Regions from separate parts of the Homo sapiens genome. Here region 2 is linked to region 1. The links are contacts of gene promoters, found by promoter capture Hi-C in blood cells and fetal thymus (Javierre and others, 2016). All regions are on one chromosome and are shown on one strand. Each heading gives the region's core, a stretch centred on a gene start or on the middle of the fragment in contact. The rest is flanking DNA. Distances are from core to core; before and after follow the strand shown.

What was found. The method cuts DNA at HindIII sites, captures the fragments that hold promoters and counts their contacts. A CHiCAGO score of 5 or more calls a contact.
Region 2: a fragment that was not itself captured here is called in contact with the fragment with the promoter of CSMD2 in region 1 in 1 of 17 cell types (erythroblasts); the score reaches 5.3 in erythroblasts.

The regions. Positions count from the first base shown.
Region 1 is chr1:34,163,921-34,166,620 of GRCh38, forward strand. It overlaps CSMD2 (CUB and Sushi multiple domains 2), which reads right to left and starts at 1,310. Exons shown (of 71, transcript NM_001281956.2): 1 at 991-1,310. The coding sequence starts at 1,177. The HindIII fragment of the contact is 6,831 bases long and covers 1-2,700 here.
Region 2 is chr1:34,597,363-34,600,062 of GRCh38, forward strand. The region is part of intron 3 of LOC105378641 (a long non-coding RNA gene); the gene reads right to left. Among named protein-coding and RNA genes, the nearest start is that of MIR552, 71 kb to the right of the region's middle. The HindIII fragment of the contact is 2,706 bases long and covers 1-2,643 here.

The sequences.
Region 1 (2,700 bases), core at 60-2,559:
GGACCGGGTTCCCTCGAAGGTTCGCGTACCTCCCCCGCGCGCTGCAAGCTGCAGCCAGACACCCGCGAAGTTCCGGGACTCTCCGCACCCGCTAGATCTGCCCCTTCCCGGACTCGGTCGTCGGGAGCTGGTCCCGCCGCCCGCGCCGCCGCTGCCGCTGCCGCAGCCGAGGCGCTCGGCTGCAGCAGGGCGCGGGAAAGGGCACTTTGGCGCGGAGTGAGCACCGAGGGGAATGTGGCAGCGCGAAGCCTGGCGGCGGCACTCCCTCCCCCGCCTCGGGCTACAACCCCCACCCCCTCCTTCCCATCCCTCAACACCCTCCAGCCCCCACCTGCACCCTCCTGCAAGGAATGCGCGGGACCCCCACCGTGGGCACGCGTCCACCTGAACCCCCTCCTAGCTCCGAGCGCCGAGGGAGGGGTAGCATTTGAGGAGGGGGATGGCGGCCGCAGTCTGCAGTCGGTTCCAGAGGGGGCACCGGTTTCAATTGGAGAAAATGGGCGGGGGCAGGGAAGGGCAGACCTTGCAGACGCAGAAATGGGGAGGGGGCGCACGGTTCCTCTCCAGCCCCCAGGACCAGCGTGCCTGGCAGAATCAGGAGCCGGGGGAGTAGGGCTCCCGGAAAGTTTATCGGGAAAAAGCCTAGCACCGTGGGGGCTGGGAGGCTGGAGAAACTGAAGCCACAGACCAGGTGCCCCGCAACCCCGGGCGGGGATGTCTGTCTCCCAGGCCCCCACACCGGCCGCATCCGTCCAAGTTGCGGCTGGGGTTGGGGCAGCAGTGAGGGTGAGGGTGGAGGTGAGGACGTGGCTGAGGGTGGGGTGGGAGACGGAGGCAGGGATGAGAATGAGAGTAGGCAACTGGGAGGGTGGGAGATTCAGGCAGGGATAGAGGCGGGGGGAGGGACTGGGACCGGGTCGAGGATGGGTGGGCTCGGGGCTCGGGTGGGGCGCGCGGCGGCCGCTGGCTCCTCGGCGCGGCTGGACTCACCCGCGGCGGCCGAGACGCTGAGCAACCCACAGCCCAGCAACAGCAGCAGAGGCGGCGGCGTTGGCGGCGGCGGGCGGCCCCAGCGGCTCCCGGCGCCCGGCACAAGCGCCGAAATCCCGGTTTCGCCGCGAGCCCTCCCCGCGGGGCAGCCGCAGCGCCCCAGCTCCCGTCCCCGCGAGCGCGGCATGGCGCGGCCGGCAGCGCCGAGGGAGAGGCTCCGCTCGCCGCCGAGGAGAAAGGAGGTCAGGAGAGCTCTGGAGCTTTTTTCTGCTCGGAAAAAATCCCGGTACGCGGGAGCCCTGAGCTTCTGCGGCTGGAATGAACCAAGTGTCCGCCCGGCCGGGGAGAGGCGCGCTGCGCTCTCGGAAATGACTCGCTCCAATCCCGCTTCGCGGGGTTCGCGCCGGGGGGCGGGAGGGGGTGAATTATCCCCGGATTAATCACTCCGGAGCCGCTTCTCCGCCGCTCCAAATGCTGGGGGTGGAGGCGCAGCTAAGGATAAAATATTGGGGGGCGGGGGTTCCTCTTCAGCGCCACCTCCACCTCCAGATAAACCACAAATTACATCTAAAGGGTTGTTTATCCGTGTCTGTTTTGCAATTGACCAGTTTCTTTTAAGTTCAGTCCTCCTGTTTTCATTTATAACATCACCCATTAATACACCCCCCTCTCCACACACACACACACAAACACACACACACACACACAGTGACAGAGACACACGCACTCACACACACAGGCACATACACGCACACCTCTTCCACGTTTGGAAATTGGAATCCTGTCTGGGAAAAGGTAACCAAAGAAGGACGCGTTCCCCAAGTCTTGGCTCTTACCAGCTGATCTTGGGTGGTGGCTTTGAACTTGCCATCTAGGGCCGGGGGCGATGCTTATGAGCCTCATTCACAATAGCCTCCTACCCCATCCCAGGAGAGGGGCGTGTGTGCGTAGACAGAGGCAGGGTTAAGAATTGGAGGGCGGTGGAGGGGGGTTGTGTGTGGGGTGGGGAGGGGGGGGAACCGGTTCATTTGACCCAGTGCGGTCCCACTCCTACCCTAAGACAAAAATCTCAGGGTGGCAGAGGCGGTCCCTGTGTGCACGCGAGTTGGGGGTGGGGAGTGAGGTTGGTGGAAGGACGGTGCAAGAGTTACTAGTACAATTTATCCCCAAATTTAAATAATCGGATCCTACTTCTTCTTCTCCCCTTCCTCCTCCCAGCCAAGGCCCCAAACCAAGAGAGTTCTTCCCAAGGACGTGAGCTGCTCCCCACCTCTCCCCAGTAGCGGCTGCCTCTAGGCCCCAAGGGCTTAGTGTCGGTCCCCACCCCATCCCCCACCCGACTCGGTCGCCGTCTCTGTCTCGTCTACTCCAGGCTTCTCCGCCAGTCACGATGGCTCCTTCGCTGTCTACGCCAAACTCTCGGCGAGAGGGAAGAGACGCTTCATGGGGGGAGGCTGGAGGAAACTGGGAGGGGCAAGGTCCAGAGAGGAGGCTTCTGCTGGCGCGTGCAGTGGAAAGGCACCTGCGATGGGCACCCCCGCCCCCTTTGCCGACACACCCCAGAGAAGCTGTGCTCCGGGCTTAGGGCAGCCTGATTTGGCCAAAACGGAGCGTTGGCATCTGTGTGGCCAAGGGGGCAGTGGCCGGCGGGCGGTGGGGCCTGAGAATTTCCGGGGAAGGGTGTGGAGAGGGACTGTAGGGATGGCGAGC
Region 2 (2,700 bases), core at 41-2,540, 430 kb after region 1:
CAGCATTAATGGTTGGGAAGTACATTTCTCTCCTAGAGGTTTGGGGAGAGAAAATGAATATTTGCTGAACAATAAAATACCTAAGTAAAGACAGGAGGCTTTGGGAGGCCGAGGCGGGCAGATCACGAGGTCAGGAGATCGAGACCATCCTGGTTAACACGGTGAAACCCTGTCTCTACTAAAAATACAAAAAATTAGCCAGGCAAGGTGGCGGACGCCTGTAGTCCCAGCTACTCAGGAGGCTGAGGCAGGAGAATGGCGTGAACCCGGGGGCGGCAGAGCCTGCAGTGAGCCGAGATCGCGCCACTGCACTCCAGCCTGGGCAACAGCGAGACTCTGTTTCAAAAAAAAAAAAAAAAGACAGGAGGGCCTGTGTCATCCAACTTTATAGAAGTTTGGGATGGCTCCAAGATAGTGCAGCACAAGAGGCGAGAGGCTTCCTCCCTTCTTCTCCACCTACAACAGACCACTATTCAGCTTTGGCCCCCTGAACTGTGTCCCTTGAGAGATGGCAGCAATAACAGAGCCCAGTGAAGCAACAGTGGGGCAATAGTGGTGACTGGTGGACACTTCTGGGCCTGGCAGACCAGCAGCAGAGCTCAAAGGGTTGCCCAGGAGTGCAGAGGGAGAGGCTGCAGTGCCCAGCAGAGCAGCAACAGTGCCCGGAGTTCCCAGCACCTGCAGAGCAGCAATGATGTCTGCAGGGCCATGCCCAGTGGAGCAGCAGCACCCCCTAGAGGGCAACTTGGTGCTCACTGAAACAGCAGCATATGTGTCCAGAAGTGCCAGAGACGTCCCAGGGATTCTTGGGAAACTGCGAGATTTTTCAGAGGGTGGTAAGGTGGGGACACAAGACAGTGAAATTTGAGCCATTTCTGTTACCCATGATTTCATTGATACCCATGGACTAGTGGATCCTGGGGAAATTTCTATTATATAAAGTGGGATATCTAACCCTGAATCCCAGACCCCCTCAGAGCGGAGAACAGGTTCCCCAAAATACATACACACACACACACACACACACGAACACACACATACAGAGGGAGGGAGAGAGAGAGAGCACAAATACCCTTAGATCCCACCCATCAGAAAGAAACAGGAGCCTTAGCTTCTCCTAGCATCCCCTTCCTTCTTCCCATAGACTCATCAAATATAGATTTCTACCTATTCTAACCAAGACAGGCCAGTGATCTGTAACTAATCCTGTGCCTGGAGGGCAGAGCAGCCTCAATTCTGGGGTCTCAGGAGAAGAACATTGGAATGGCCTCTTTGTGGGGAAGCTCCTCCCTGCTCTCCATCTGTCCAGCCCCACCAAGCCCTGTAGCTGGTGATCATTAAGCAGTAAAGGCATCCCTAATGGTGGCTAATGGCGGGCTTAAGTACTAGTTACCTGAAAGAACCCCTGGGGTTGGCTCACTTACTGTATTGAGTGATCCTGCAGACCCACAGAGCCACTCTTTCTAATGAGGAGAGCGACTGAATGCTGAATTCAAGCCCAGAAAATGGCTGGGGAGAGAAGGGGAGCCTGCCAAGGCCCTCTATAAGGGTCCAATGTGAAAGCACAGCCCTCCTCTTGCTGTTCCTCTGTGGCTCCAGTTGCCCAGGCTGCCCTGAAGGGGTTGAATAGGGAATATGGCATTAATAGTTAGCAGCTGAGGCTTTCAGGCCAGCCCCAACTTTCACCTCCACTCTATCTCAGTCACCAATCCCATGACAACAGCCTGGAGCCCTTGCTTCCCCAGAGCTGCCCTGCTTCAAAAATCCATTCTGCATCTGGTTGCCTGCCTTCCAGGCTCCTCCCACCTGCCTCCCACCACTCCTGCCTTTCCTTGCATATTCTCTATACCAGTCATGACCACACATTTCTCCCAAGTGTTCAAGCCACAAACTTAGATATCCGTCCTCTCCTTTGAATCTATCACCAAATCCTACGATTCTTCCTTCTAAATGTCTCTTAATTCTACCCAGCCCTCTCTATCTTCCTTGGGCAACTTCCCATCATCTCTCACTTGGCCCACTTTGGTGGACCTCAATGGCAAGGACCCTGTTGTATCCATCTTTGTATCTCAAATGTTGGACCCAGGCCTGGCACAAGATAAGAAATCCTGAAATTCTTATCAAATGAATGGGCCAAAACATATTCATGGCATTGTTCTCAGTTTGCGTCCCTTCCCCAGTACTAGCTGTATGTACTTGGACTGGTCACTTGTCTGCTCTCAGCCTCTGAATCTCCACCTGATACGCAGAGAATTCAATCTCAAGTAGAATTGTTGTAGAGATAGAAGTAAATAATACTATAATAGAAGGAATTCGTTACGTTAATAACAAAATGAGAAACAATGACTTAAGCCAAGCAGGGCTTTTCTTTCTTCTCTGGTAAGAAGAAAGCCTCTAGAAGATGTTGTTGCTATGTTGGCCCAAAGGCACAGGGACATCTAGGCCAAGACTTCTACCACATTCTTAGCCTTTTCCTTATGATTAACTTGTGGTTGCAAAATGGCAGCTGTGCCTCCAACATCAGCCCACATTCCAGGTAGAAAGAAGGGGAAATGCCACGGGCAATGAACAAAAGGAGTTCATACTAACTGAATCTGCCATTTTTAAAGAACTCCATGCAGTTTCAATTTGGCCAAAAAATAAAGCTTTGGACCAGACATCAAATATCTGCCTCAATGGCTGTATCAGTCAAGGTTTTTG